Linked DNA regions of Homo sapiens: region 1 is linked to region 2. Evidence: promoter capture Hi-C in human tissues and cell types (Jung and others, 2019). All regions are on one chromosome and are shown on one strand. Each heading gives the region's core, a stretch centred on a gene start or on the middle of the fragment in contact. The rest is flanking DNA. Distances are from core to core; before and after follow the strand shown. Region 1 has its middle 12 kb from the start of ZBTB43. Region 2 holds the start of PPP6C (protein phosphatase 6 catalytic subunit).

The links. Contacts are between HindIII fragments. The study calls those that stand out against the background at their distance.
Region 1: a contact is called between a fragment that was not itself captured here and the fragment with the promoter of PPP6C in region 2, in 1 of the 25 tissues and cell types used here (dorsolateral prefrontal cortex).

What each region holds. Positions count from the first base shown.
Region 1 is chr9:126,792,035-126,794,734 of GRCh38, reverse strand. No RefSeq gene overlaps it. Among named protein-coding and RNA genes, the nearest start is that of ZBTB43, 12 kb to the left of the region's middle. RefSeq lists an enhancer at 2,227-2,396. The HindIII fragment of the contact is 3,083 bases long and covers 1-2,700 here.
Region 2 is chr9:125,188,488-125,191,187 of GRCh38, reverse strand. PPP6C (protein phosphatase 6 catalytic subunit) reads left to right here and starts at 1,385. Exons shown (of 7, transcript NM_002721.5): 1 at 1,385-1,544. The coding sequence starts at 1,470. RefSeq lists enhancers at 1,108-1,187, 490-1,276, 1,277-2,063. The HindIII fragment of the contact is 9,567 bases long and covers 1-2,700 here.

The DNA.
Region 1 (2,700 bases), core at 65-2,564, 1.6 Mb before region 2:
CTCCCAGTTTCAGCGCCGATGACTGTGTCCGCCTGCTGTTATTACAAAACAATCCACCGCAAGGCTCAGTGGCTTACAACAGTAATTACCTATTCTCATTTGTGTGTCTGCAGATCAGTTAAGGGCTGGCTGGTTTAAGCTGGGCTCAACTGGGCAGCTCTGCTTCAGGCTGTGGGACCAGCTGGACACCCCAGGAGTTGTGGGGAGCTACTGGAAGAGACACCCTTTTGTTGGATGGTGTGGGAGGATGCGAGGTCAGGAACCATTGCAGCCATTTTATTTCTGTAAGGAGAGAGCCTGGAATTGCAAGAGCCTGTGTGAGGGGGCTGGAAATGAAGTTGACAGCAAGAAAGATATAAAACACAGGTAGGGAAAAGTCAGTGTCTTGGTGAGAATCTGGATCCAGCTTCACCTCACCAGACCCAGGTGAACCAACACATTCCCTTCATTGCTCATCAGTTTGCAATTTTGTTTTTGTTTTTGTTTCTTTACAATCAAGACACTCTTAACTGACACACAGGCTGTGAGGTGGTTGCTCGGGGGAGTGGTTGGAGGAGTCACCCACTCTTTCTTCCAGGGTTCTGGCTTTTGGGACATGTGTGCACATGTCTGGGTAGACATTCTAAGCTGCACAGAACAGAAATGGAGTCTGGCTGATTACAGTAGAAAAAGAATTCACTAAAAGGATCTGATCCCCAAGAGGGCTGGAAAATCGAGCTCTGTGACTATGCAGCCAAGCCGCACCCACAATCAGGCCACAGAACTGGGGTGGCCAGAACACTGCTGCCACCACCATGGCCACCACTTTTGCCAGTGCGGTTGCTGCTGCCAACTGGATCCCCCGTCCCCTCCAGTCTGCACTGCGCTGCCCCTGCTACTTTGGAAGCAGATCTTGCTGCCACCACTGCCCTCATGTGCCACTAGCTGCCGAGTCAGAGTCCTCTGGTTGGCTGAGGCTGGCCAGCGTCTGCTCCCTGGCTGCAAGGGAGGCTGAGGAAGCAACAAACTGGCCCTTTGGGCTTCTACAGTGGGGCGTAGTTTCCGCCTCTCTCCAAGTTTTGGAGAATGGGGAATTCCTCAAACACAGGATGGGGTGTCATGCTAGGGAGTCTCAATACAGGGCATAAGGGATTGAGATCAAATAGAGACAATGGCTTCAGCTTTATTCCTGGTAGATCTAAATTGGAGAATGCAACTGGAACCTGGGGCCAAAATCTTCCCTCCCCGCTCCCAGAACTGAACTTCTTTTCTCTTTTCTTTTCTTTTTTCGTTTTTTGAGACAGAGTCTTACTCTCTCACCCAGGCTGGAGTGCAATGGCACAGTCATGGCTCACTGTAGCCTTGACCTCCCGGGCTCAGGTGATCCTCCCACCTCAGCCCCTTTAGTAGCTAGGTGTGCCATCACCTGCCCAGCTAATCTTTTGTAGAAACAAAAATACAAACACGGGGTTTCCCTGTGTGGCCCAGACTGGTCTCAAACTCCTGCACTCAAGTGATCCATCCACCCTGGCCTCCCAAAGTGCTGAGATTGGGAGTGCTCACAGGCGTGAGCCACCATGCCCAGCCTCCAGAACAGAATTTCTCTCCTGGCTGTAGGAGAGCCCTCTTCCTGGAGCAGGGATGCTCTGCCTTGCTGAGATACTGCTTGACATCGGGAACAGAAACAAGGGACAAGCTGTTGATGAGGGCAGGTCCAGGGGAGGCCAGTGTCTGAGCTGTCACCTGTCCTCTGCCTCCCCACACAGAGGGGCGGAGGGGTAGGATCCTCTAATGCTATTTCCGTTTGAAGATGGAAAGTTCCATCCATTTCCCAAAGAGGAAACAGCACAAAAACATGGTGTGGTGGGGTGAGAGGGGGCATGAAGGGGTCAAGGGGAGGCAAGCTTTCCCAAGAGGTAAAGTCGGTGATGCAAATGAGAACAGTAGACATTTGCACATTAACTGTATAAGGATGCATATTCTTTTTTTTTTTCAAGACGGAGTCTTGCTTTGTTGCCCAGGCTGGAGTACAGTGGCGTGATCTCAGCTCACTGCAACCTCCACCTCCCAGGTTCAGGCGATTCTTCTGCCTCAGCCTCCCGAGTAGCTGGGACTACAGGTGTGTGCCACCATGCCCAGCTAATTTTTTGTATTTTTAGTAGAGATGGGGTTTCACTATGTTAGCCAGGAATTTCTCAATCTCCTGACCTCGTGATCTGCCTGCCTTGGCCTCCCAAAGTGCTGGGATTATACGTGTGAGTCACCATGCCCGGCCAGAATGCATATTCTTAACATCTACACAAAGCTATGCACTCTCATTTGTCCTTAGATATTGGCTCCTCTATGTGTATTTTTTTGTCCTGCCATTTTTTTTTTTTTTGAGACAGCATCTTGCTCTGTTGTCCAGGCTGGAGTGTAGTGGTGCAATCTCAGCTCACTGCAACCTCCTCCTCCCAGGTTCAACTGATTCTCCTGCTTCAAGTCTCCCAATTAGGCTGCTTCACCATGCCTGGCTAATTTTTAATAGAGACAGGGTTTCACCATGTTGGCCAGGCTGGTCTCAATCTCTTGACCTCAAGTGATCCACCCACCTTGGCCTCCCAAAGTGCTGGGATTACAGGTCTGAGCCACCACGCCTGGCCATCCTGCCACTTCTGAAGGACATGTGACAGGCTGGCTGTCTTCCATTTGGCTCTTCCCACAGATCCTCTCTGCCTCCCC
Region 2 (2,700 bases), core at 136-2,635:
AGGCACTATGTAACTATTAGTTTAATGAATGAAGAAATGAATGCTTGTGGGCATCATTCATTCTGCAACAAACTTCTAAAAATTAATTTTACTTTGAAACAATTTCATACTTTCAGAGGAGTTACAAGAATAATACAAAGAAGTTCACCCAGATATCTCATTCAGGGTTAGCCAATTGTCCACAAAATATACTTTAGAGAGCAAGAGGATTAATTCCAGGGTCTCTTGAGCAACAAATATTTATTGAGCGCCTGCTACTATTGGATTACATAACAGTCTCTTAACTGGTCTCTTAGCTATAGGCATTGCACCCCCACCCCTAGTCCCATACAGCAGCTCCTTTTACTAATTTATTTTTGAGGAGGATCTCGCTCTGTCGCCCAAGCTGGAGTGCAGTGCCGCGATCTCAGCTCACTGCAACCTCCGCCTCCCAACTCAAGCGGTTCTCCTGCCTCAGCCTCCAGAGTAGCTGGGACCACAAGCACGCACTACCGCGCCAGGCTAATTTTGGTACTTTTTGTAGCTACAGATAGAATAGAGATCTTTGTCTATTTTGTTCACGAAGTACTGCAAGCGCCTTGAGCTGTACCTGGCACATCTTTGTTGCTCAGCAAAGAGTGGTTGGATAAACGAACGCTGAAGGTATGCTAGTACCAGGTACTGTTCTCGGTGCTGGAGTTACAGCAAAAAACTCCCTGCCCTCGTGGGATTCTCACTGGAAGCATGCTTAAGCTTAAGCCATTTTTCAATCTTGACCCCACCATTTTGTTCCCTGTGAGATTTGGGGTGAACTGCAGTTTCCTAGCCTCACTTTCCTATCAATCGTTACGAAGATTAAAAGGAAAAATATCATTTGTATCGCATTTAGCATCAGAAATGCTTTAATAATATTCGTTTCCCTTCCTTTCAGGCTGGAAGACTGGGGCCTGACATCTCTGCCACAGGCTTAGGCGAGGTTTTCACAGGGACTTGGAAAGGTGCAAACGGTTACTACGGCCAGGCTTACCCAATTGTTAAGTGAAGATATTCTGGAGAGTGCTTAAAAGGGTTGGAAAAACAAACCAGTGAGTGGCTAGGACCACCTACTCCGCTGTTTTGCCTCGGAAAAGCCTCGCCGGCTGCCGGGAGGTGAAAGTCTGGAGGAACGGGAGGAAAAGAGAGGGGTGGCTGTCCACAACAGAAAACTACACATCCCAGCACCCCCGCGGCAGACGACTACGGGTCCCAGCAGGTTTCGCGGGGTGGACCGAAGCGGGCTCTCTTGGGGCCTGCAGTCGGGGTTCAGCCAGAGGGGGCGCCGGGCGTACCGACGTAGCGGGGAGAAACGGGTCGCGCTTTAACGGCGCTGCGCAGGCGCCACTCACGGGCCGGACGTGACGCAGGGAAAGTTCCGGCTTCGGCCTCCGCCGCTGCCGCCGCCGCTGCTACAGCCGCCGCCGCCGCTGTTGCCGCGGCTTGTTATTCTTAAAATGGCGCCGCTAGACCTGGACAAGTATGTGGAAATAGCGCGGCTGTGCAAGTACCTGCCAGAGAACGACCTGAAGGTGAGCCCTATTTGCGGGCTCGCCCCTTCCGGCTGTGGGGCGCCCGCCGGCCGGCCCTTCCTTTCTCCAGGACCCCCGCCGGGTATCCAGTCCAGTCGCGGTGGAGGGCCTCCCCCATTGCCAGTCGACCCGGTCCTACCCGGCGTCACGCCGAGGGTCTCGCGAGCCGAGTCGTCGAATGCTGTCCCGGTTGCCTCAGTGGGGATCCCGAGGGATGTCGCGGCCTCTGTCCCAGGGTCGCCCCTTCTGGCCTTCGGGCTGCCCCAGGACCCGCAGCTGTAACAGCTTTATTTAGAAGGCTCGGCTCCCCACCCCATCCCTGGGTCTCCCGCAGTCGGAGCCGAGCCCCCGCGGCAGTGCCCTCGGGATGGGGTCGCCTCCACCGGAGGTGACAGGAGCGCGGAGTGGCCGGCGTCTGACAGGAGATGCCACCGGCTACCGGAACGCGGCCTCAGTGTGTTTAGGTCTCTGAGGAAGGGGAAGGCGGTGGGCCCGAGTGGTTTGGTACTGGCGGGAGCGAACGTCAGGTCGTCCCTCTTCATTGCCACTCCTCCAAATTGCTTTTTAGGATCGTCGGTTTTGCTAATTCAGAGGTGAATCCCGTTTCTGAGTATGTTGTTGAGCTTACTGAAGTGGATAAAGTAGTTGGTTCTCAATAAATACAAATACTTTCTCCTTAACCCCTTCTTAACTCAGTATTTCATTTTCTTCGTTTTCTAAAGGAGGTGAGTTCCTTGTTACTCCTGAGTCCAAGTAAGAGTAAATGTATGTATGGGTAAAGGAATGACTTTGGTATACTGCTTTTCTTTTTTAAAACTTTTTAATTATTATTATTATTATTATTATTATTGTTTTTAACTGAGATAGAGTCTCACTCTGTCACCCAGGCTGGAGTGCAGCGGTGCGATCTTGGCTCACTGCAACCTCCACTTCCCGGGTTCAAGCGATTCTCCTGCCTCAGCCTCCCGACTAGGTGGAATTACAGGCGCCCGTCACGACGCCCGGCTGTTTTGTATTTTTAGTAGAGACGGGGTTTCGCCATGTTGGCCAGGCTGGTCTTGAACTCCTGACCTCAAGTGATCCGCCCGCTTCGGCCTACCAAAGTGCTGGTATTACAGGCGTGAGCCACCGCGCCGGCCTAGGTATACTGCTTCTT